Regions from separate parts of the Homo sapiens genome. Here regions 1 and 3 are each linked to region 2. The links are contacts of gene promoters, found by promoter capture Hi-C in human tissues and cell types (Jung and others, 2019). All regions are on one chromosome and are shown on one strand. The core of a region is centred on a gene start or on the middle of the fragment in contact, and the rest is flanking DNA. Distances in the headings are between cores, read along the strand shown. Region 1 overlaps MAPKAP1 (MAPK associated protein 1). Region 2 holds the start of MAPKAP1 (MAPK associated protein 1). Region 3 overlaps PBX3 (PBX homeobox 3).

Region 1 (2,700 bases), core at 39-2,538, 220 kb before region 2:
CTTGGCTGGGCGCAGTAGCTCACACCTGTAATCCCACCATTTTGGGAGGCCGAGGTGGGTGGATCACCTGAGGTCAAGAGTTCGAGACCAGCCTGACCAACATGGTGAAACCCCGTTTCTACTAAAAATACAAAATCAGCTGGGTATGGTGGCATACGCCTGTAATCTTAGCTACTTGGGAGGCTGAGGCAGGAAAATCGCTTACACCCGGGAGGCAGAGGTTGCAGTGAACCAAGATTGCGCCACTGCACTCCAGCCTGGGCAACAAGAACGAAACTCTGTCTCAAAAAACAAAACAAAACAAAACAAACCAACAAAAAAACAACAACAAAATAGAAACTATCATTTGAGTTTTGGTATAGTAACAAAAATTAATACCCACAATTATCTGAAAAGGCTATTGAAATATTCTTCCCTTTTTCAACAACATATCTGTGTCAGGCCAAATTTTCTTCACATACTTTAACCAAAGCAATGTATTGCAGCGGACTGAATGCAGAGGCAGATATGAAAATCCAGGTGTCTTCTATAAGCCCAGACATTACAGAAACTTGCAATATAATAAAATAATGACACTCTTCTCATTAAAAATTTTAGGCCTGGCTAGGTGCAGTGGCTCACACCTGTAATCCCAGCACTTTGGGAGGCCAAGGTGGGCGGACCACTTGAGGTCAGGAATTTGAGACCACCCTGGCCAACATGGTGAAACCTCGTCTCTATAAAAATACAAAAAATTAGCTGAGGATGGCGGGGCATGCCTGTAATCTCAGCTACTCTGGAGGCTGAGGCAGGAGAATCGCTTGAAGCCAGTAGGCGGAGGCTGAAGTGAGAGCTGAGATTACACCACTGCACTCCAGCCTGGGCGACAGAGCAAGACTCCGTCTCAAAAAAAAAAAAAAAAAATTTAGGCCAGGTGCGGTGGCTTATGAATATAATTCCAGCACTTTGGGAGGCTGAGGTGGGTGGATTGCTTGAGTCTAGGAGTTTGAGACCACCCTGTGCAACACGGCAAAACTCTGACTCTACAAAAAATACAAAAATTAGCTGGGTTTGGTGGCTCATGCCTGTACTCCCAGCTACTGAGGATGAGGTGGGATGATCACTTGAGCCCAGGAGGTTGAGGCTACAGTGAGCTGTGATCACGCCACTGCACTCTAGCCTGGGTAACAGAGTGAGACCCTGTCTCAAAAAAATTTTTTTTAAAGAAATTATAGTTACTTTTCATAAAATTTGTCATTTGGGCCAGGCATGGTGGCTCACCCCTGTAATCCCGGCACTTCTGGAGGCCAAGGCAGGTGAATTACTTGAGTCCAGGAGTTTAAAACCAGCCTGGGCAACATGGCAAAACCCCATCTCTACAAAAAATACAAAAAAAAAGCAGCCAGGCTTAGTGGTGTGCTCCGATAGGCCCAGCTACTGGGGAAGCCGAGGTGGGAGGATCGCTTGAGCCTAGGAGGTGGAGGTTGCAGTGAGCTGTGATTGTACTACTGCATTCTAGCCTTGTGACAGAGACCCTATCTCAAAAAAAACCAAAAAAACAAAAAAAAACAAAAAAACATAAAACTGTCATTAACATTAATGAAATTACTGTTTTTCAATAAATATTTTAAAATTAATCAATTTTTAATAGATGTAACTCAATAAACAAAAGCTTGGCCAGGTGCAGTGCCTCACACCTGTAATACCAGCAGTTTGGGAAGCCAAAGCGGGAGCACTGTTTGAGGCCAGGAGTTGAAGAGCAGCCTGAGCAACATAGTGAGACTTTATCTCTACTGAAAGTTAAAAAAAAAAAAAAAAAAGTCAGCTGGGCATGGTGGTGCACACCTGTAGTCCCAGCTGCTCGGGAGGTAGAGATGAGAGGATCACTTGAGCCCAGGAGTTTGAGGCTACAGTGAGCTGATTTGCCACTGCACTCCATCCTGGGCGAGACCTGGCGACAGGGCAATACCTCGCCTCAAAATAACAAAACAAAACAAAAGCTCTTTGGGTCTTCAATAACTTTTAAGAGTATAAAGAGGTCCTAAAACCAAAAAGTTTGAGAACTGCTGACTTTATTGGTTATAATGCCATGTTTTCATTGCCCCTGATATCTATTTGGACAATAATAATGGGAAACGAAAGTGCAGTTATAGCTGTGTATATGTGTTATAATCTGACAACAAACACAGCTGCAAAGCCTGTACACACATAAAAGCAATAGGTTTACTTTCAGGTGATCAGACCAAGGCTAATTATAAATACTGTTTTATAGTTTTAAAAGTGTTTTCATAGATGTGATTTAATTGGAACTGAGGGAGACACTTAGAGTTATATGACTTTATTTCAAACAAATAGGACTAATCATTAAATCATAGCTCAGATGAACTCACCGTATATTACTGGAAGATTCCTTGTACTCATAGATACAAACTGCATGGGACTTTAACATTCATTTTATGGTTCAAGGAGTCTTACACCAAGTCTAAAAGGCCCCAATCTAGTTATAAATTAAAGCAACTTCAGTGTCTCTTCTCTAAAAAGATCTATGCCAACTCTAGAACTCAACTGGAAGATCAGTGGCCTCTGTTATATCCTCACCTTTGTCCATAGCACAATCCTGTTGACTGTTTCTTCTAGACTAGCAGTTACTTAGCTCCAGCCATATGCCAGGTGCTGTGCTAGTGCTTCCGGAATTTAGGGGGATGGCAGTGTTCCCAGATG
Region 2 (2,700 bases), core at 71-2,570:
GATCAGGATGGGGTAATTAAAGAAGGAGACCTTTTCAAGCATAACTGGAAAGGTAACCAGGAGCCAGATTAGGAGATGTAAGGGGGTGTAAGTGCAGTCTGGGACACACAGTAGTTGAAGGTAGGCATGAGCACACAGATGAATGGGAAAGGGCTACCAGCATGCCCCAAATCCCGCAGGTGTGTAAACTGAAAAACATGAAAACAATTATTGCTTCATCAAGAACTCTTTCCGTGTTTACTAGGTACCTTGTGTGGGCTCATAAAATATAAGGAATAAAACCCATATCTAGGCTTCTGCTCAAGTGGGTTTTAACATTACGGATCCACCTCTCCTGCTTGTCAGAGAATGAGAACGCTGCTTTTTTTAAACCAATGGGTCTCCATTTGACTCTTCACACCTGGGAAAGTTTTGAACTTTGCCGATTTGGGTTTATAACAACATGGTGCTTTGTACAGTGCCAGGTACTGTGGTGGGCTTCCAAAGTGACTTTCATTCATTCAAAAGGAAGTTTTAACCAATTTCTGAGTCAATTTGGGGGTCTCTGGTTAAAGTCATAATCTTGTTTACGCTACAATCTCTTTTTCCCAGCCTTAAACAAATCTAAATGACTCCTTGCCACTCCCATAAACAAAGAATGAATCAAAGTTCCAGCAGCACTGTAGCTAGAAAAAAGTCTGTAAGGCTGTTAACCTCTTTAAGGGGGAGGGGGAGAAGGGACGCAAGGAAACAAGGACCACACAGTCAATGCTTGAAAACCTTGATTTTCACATTATGAAGACCAGGGCACCTAGATATTGCCAAGTGCAGGCCCAGAAACTGCCGGAGTCAACTACACCCCCCACCCCCACACTACCAGGTCAGCTGGCTTCTTTTCCCCTAAACCACACACCCGCCTCAGACTCCTGACAGCCTCCAGTTCTGGAAATGGCCAGGAAACGAACGCGCCCGGGCCACCTGAACAAGGGCCCGGCAGGCGGCCCGCCGGGCAGCGCTGAAACTGGAGGGGTGAGAGGGCCGCCAGGTGGGCAAGCTGGTGGGCTGACGGACGGGCGGGGAGCTGGCGGCTGGGGCAACCTTTACCTGAAGCTGCTTCCACACTACGGGCCGGGTCGGCCCCGGGACACGTTCCTGAGGGGAGGGCCCGGCTCCCCCACGCCTCCCGGCCCCTGCCCCGAGCTCTGCACTCTCGGGATCCACGGGGACCGGCGCTCCTCCCGGCCCGCTCAGCTGCCGCTTCCCGGGTTAGCCCTCATGCCCCTGCTGCTCGCCGCCGCCGGCCGGCCGAGCAGCAGCCCTATTACCCCGAGCCGCACACGACCCGGAACCACACCCCGGCGTTCCGGAAGTCCCCGACCGGGAAGGAGCCTCTGGCTGGGGACGTAGTGCGCAAGCCCCAGAGCTGAAAGCAAGGAGCGGTAGCTTCCCGCGGGGCGGGGCCGGGAGGGAGGCCGGGCGCATGCGCGCCGCTTCTCCAGTGCAGGGAAAGGCCTGGGTCGGAGACTGAGTTCTGGCAAGATGCGCCAGTGCCTGGACTTGCCTTGAGCAGGAATCAGTGTTAGGCTTCTCCATCGAATCTTCTTTCTCCCCATTTCCACGGAGAAAAGCCCTTAGTTCGTCCAGAAATGAGTGATGAGGCAGCTCAGCCTCTCTGAGAAAGACCTGGGTTCAAATGCCAGCTCTTATAACTTGCTGTGTGTCCTAGGATGTGACACTTCTCTCTGAGCCTCGGGTTTTCCCATCCAGGGCAATAGTTTCAACTTTAGAGTATATTGCTGTGGGAATCGAATGGGATGATGCTTGAAAAACACCCAGCATAGTGCCTGACACATAGTAAACATGCAGTCAATGTTAGTTATTTCTCTTATTATAATATCTGTAATATGGAGGTGACAATAATCTTCCTCAAGCCCTGCTGGGAGGTTTCCAGGAGATGTAGGAGGACTGGCACAGGGCAGAAGTTCAGTGTGTCTCATGCTGCTCCCTTCCTCTCTCACGGAGGAAATCAGTAGAGAAAGCCACGATGAAGGGGGAAAAAGGATTCAGGGAGTGCAGTGAGAGTGGTTCTCCCACCTGAAAGATGCTTGGGGAAGTCTCTCAAAAACGCACCTTAGCAAAAGAAAAAACTCAAGGTTGAATTTCAGCCCTGAGGGACCCCTGCCCAATTTTAAACTTATTAATAAATATGCCATGGGGCCAGGCACGGTGGCTCACACCTGTAATCCCAGCACTTTGGGAGGCCGAGGAGGGCAGATCACTTGAGATCAGGAGTTCGAGACCAGCCTGGCCAACATGGTGAAACCCTGTCTCTACTAAAAATACAAAAATTAGTCTGGCGTGGTGGTGTGCACCTGTAGTCCCAGCTACTCAGGAGACTGAGGCAGGAGAATGGCTTGAACCCGGGAGGCAGAGGTTGCAGTGACCCAAGATCAGGCCACTGCACTCCAGCCTGGGTGACAGAGACTCTGTCTCAAAACAAAAAAACAAAAAACACGGTGGGTCTACCCATGTATTTCAAATATGGTCATCCATCACTTAATGATGAGGACACAAGAAATGCATCGTTAGCTGATTTTGTGGTTGTGTAAACATCATAGACTGTACTTACACAATGTCAGAGCCTACTACACACCTAGGCTGTTTGGTATTAGCCTATTGCTTCTAGGCTGCACACCTGTACAGCATGTTACTGTACCATAT
Region 3 (2,700 bases), core at 201-2,700, 210 kb after region 2:
CCAAATGCAGTCGTCTATGCAGATGCTCTCTCCCATTATCTGTGGGGCAGGTGCACAGCATGTTGAAAGACAGCTAATTAGGATTTGCTGAAAGATATGCAAAAACTGTAGGCTTATAACAAAGCCAAGTTCATTGTTAAACAATGTTTTACTGTGTTTGTATGATTTGTCTAAATCTTAGGGATACGGAAATGAATGTTGTGATTATAAGTAGATTGCAAATAGGGTTTATTTTTTAAACTTTATAATGTTGTGATGACCAAAGAACCTAGATGTAAACCTTTATAAACCTCTGTATGTTTCATTATACATACATTTTGGATTAAAAACAAGTACAATCAAATTTTAAATGATTGTTTTACCATGTTTCAATTTGAAGATATCAAGATATTTTGATAACCACACAGTCTGATTCATTCTGGCCCTTGCAAATTTAGACCCATTAAAATGTTTATAGGTGCCCAGAGGAGTAGGTATTATGACTAAAAGCCAGTGTAACTCTAGAAAGTTAGTAAACTAAGTAATAGTGAGTGGCTAGGTAGGTAGGATGAGGAATAAAATGGTAACTAAATGTTTTTAAGTAAGAAAATAAATAGAAATATTCAAATTGAAAGTAATTTTGGAAACCAGGTATTAGTATTTAAAGATCCCATAATCATTACTTTGCTTAATAAAGAAAAGAAACCGATTCACTTTTCAGACTAGTTATGAAAATTCCTTTATTATTGATAGTCTTCTTCTTGTTGCCTATTTGCAAAGTACTTTAGTACTTTTCATCTAAAGAACTATGAGTTTTCCGTCAGGAAATGATTTTTCTGATGAAATTTGATGCACATAATTTATAAAGTAAATACAAAGGATTGCATTAAAACATATTTTCCTGTTCTTGAGGCAAGCACTTAGTGTTGATTTACTGATAATTTTAGAAATAAGATATTTTTTCATTATAAGAGTAAAACGTTATAGTAATTGATACTGTATACTTATAATTGTTTTTATTTGTGTCCACGGCTTTTGAGCTTATGGATTGCTTCTTATTGGTACAATAATGATGGTTTATATACGTATTTATATACATATGTATAAAAGTATCATAGATGGCTAATTAGTTTTGTGCCTTTTGCATTTGTTCCTAATGAATTTCCTTCTGTCTCTCTTATGGTGTACTTCCTTGTATGTTTGTCATTGAGCTTCTTCTCTTGTTTGCCGTACATGTGCAGGGAAGTGTAATCATTTTGGGTATGGAAGTTAATCTGCTATTAAAGTACTTCACCACATGTCCATAGGGAAAAGATTAATGTGTTTAACTACAAGGGGAAAACTAGAAACCCGGAGGAAACTTGAAGGTAGATTAAAAAAACACATTTCAGGAGAGGCACCAGTGTCTATGTAAATACAAAAATCAACAAACACACAAAACTGTGGGCAAAAATTCAGTTGAAAATGGAGAAACTTGAGAAGTCCTCAAACAAGAATAAAAAATTAAACAATTCAAAGTGCAGCATAAGAGATTGCTCAGTAAGCTCTCATTGCATGCCAAATGCACAAAAAACTTGCTATGTGAACTACAAGCATGTACAGGTCGTGAGATTTTTAACATTTAACACAGTGAATTAAAAGAGAGGAAAATTAAAGATTTAAATTAAAAATGCAAACTTAACCAATACATGGCAGTTCTAGAACAATATTAGGCAGTCCCTTTTAGTTATAGAAGAAACAGCAAATACGTTTGCCTATTTTTAATTATCAGCAGTGTGTTGGTACGCATTTTATGAGTTATCTTTTTGCTCTCCTAAATGAATATATTGTCTTAGTATATTATAGTTTTCAAACCTTATTTGCCTCTGAATAGACAACAGATAAAATTTTAAATTATGGTGAGTTAGTTTTATTATCCAGTTGAAATTATTCTGAAGTATAATTTTAAATGAAAGTGACAGCTTTAAAGTGTTTTGGGGAAGAAATTAAAGTTTTGCATTTGTGTTAAGGCAACCAAGAGCTCTGTCATGCCATGGATGTAATTCAGGGCATCTAGGAATGAAATCTGTTCTTAAAAGAATTGACGGTAGCTTTAGGTTAGCATATAAAATCAGAGTTGGTGATCAGTTGAGTACTTGGCAGCTTATAGATGTTATGTCATGTAAGTTACACTAGACACAAAGTGTGTACCACTGTGGATAAACAACAACAGGCACAGACTCAAAAGAGAATCCAAATACAAACAAGCAAGGTGCCAACTTCCTTTTCCCCTCTTCCCCAAGAAGCCTTGTAACTAGTGTAGGGAACCTGCTTTGAAGCAGATTTACAGAGGTTAATTGGGCTGGGATGTTTTAGATTATGTTACACATTAATGAAAATGCTGATTTTGAGCTGTCATGACTCCAATGCTTTTTATACCATGATAATTATTTTAAAACTTTGTCTTCTGTGTTGTTGAAAACATTTTGGCAGAAAGCCTGTGTGACCTGATTAAACCTATGAATTGTCAGCTATGATCTATAGTACTCAGAAGAGGTTGCTGACTGGGCATCACTTAGGAAGTTCTTGATTTAAAAGCAAAATTAGATTGAGACTACTGTGCCCAGCACTGTATTGCCATGTCAATGGCACATTTTTAATACTGTATTTAGTATCCTCGTTTTATAGTTTGCTGGCAATTGCTTAACAATATTCATTTAATAATATATATATATTTAAGTA

What was found. The method cuts DNA at HindIII sites, captures the fragments that hold promoters and counts their contacts. A contact is called where the count stands out against the background at its distance.
Region 1: a contact is called between a fragment that was not itself captured here and the fragment with the promoter of MAPKAP1 in region 2, in 1 of the 25 tissues and cell types used here (H1 embryonic stem cells).
Region 3: a fragment that was not itself captured here is called in contact with the fragment with the promoter of MAPKAP1 in region 2 in 1 of the 25 tissues and cell types used here (stomach).

Annotation. Positions count from the first base shown.
Region 1 is chr9:125,490,255-125,492,954 of GRCh38, forward strand. The region is part of intron 8 of MAPKAP1 (MAPK associated protein 1); the gene reads right to left. Among named protein-coding and RNA genes, the nearest start is that of MAPKAP1, 220 kb to the right of the region's middle. The HindIII fragment of the contact is 6,822 bases long and covers 1-2,700 here.
Region 2 is chr9:125,705,888-125,708,587 of GRCh38, forward strand. MAPKAP1 (MAPK associated protein 1) reads right to left here and starts at 1,321. Exons shown (of 12, transcript NM_001006617.3): 1 at 1,084-1,321. RefSeq lists silencers at 1,025-1,254, 1,365-1,534 and enhancers at 1,243-1,537, 1,535-1,694. The HindIII fragment of the contact is 13,511 bases long and covers 1-2,700 here.
Region 3 is chr9:125,912,412-125,915,111 of GRCh38, forward strand. The region is part of intron 2 of PBX3 (PBX homeobox 3); the gene reads left to right. Among named protein-coding and RNA genes, the nearest start is that of PBX3, 170 kb to the left of the region's middle. The HindIII fragment of the contact is 3,943 bases long and covers 1-2,700 here.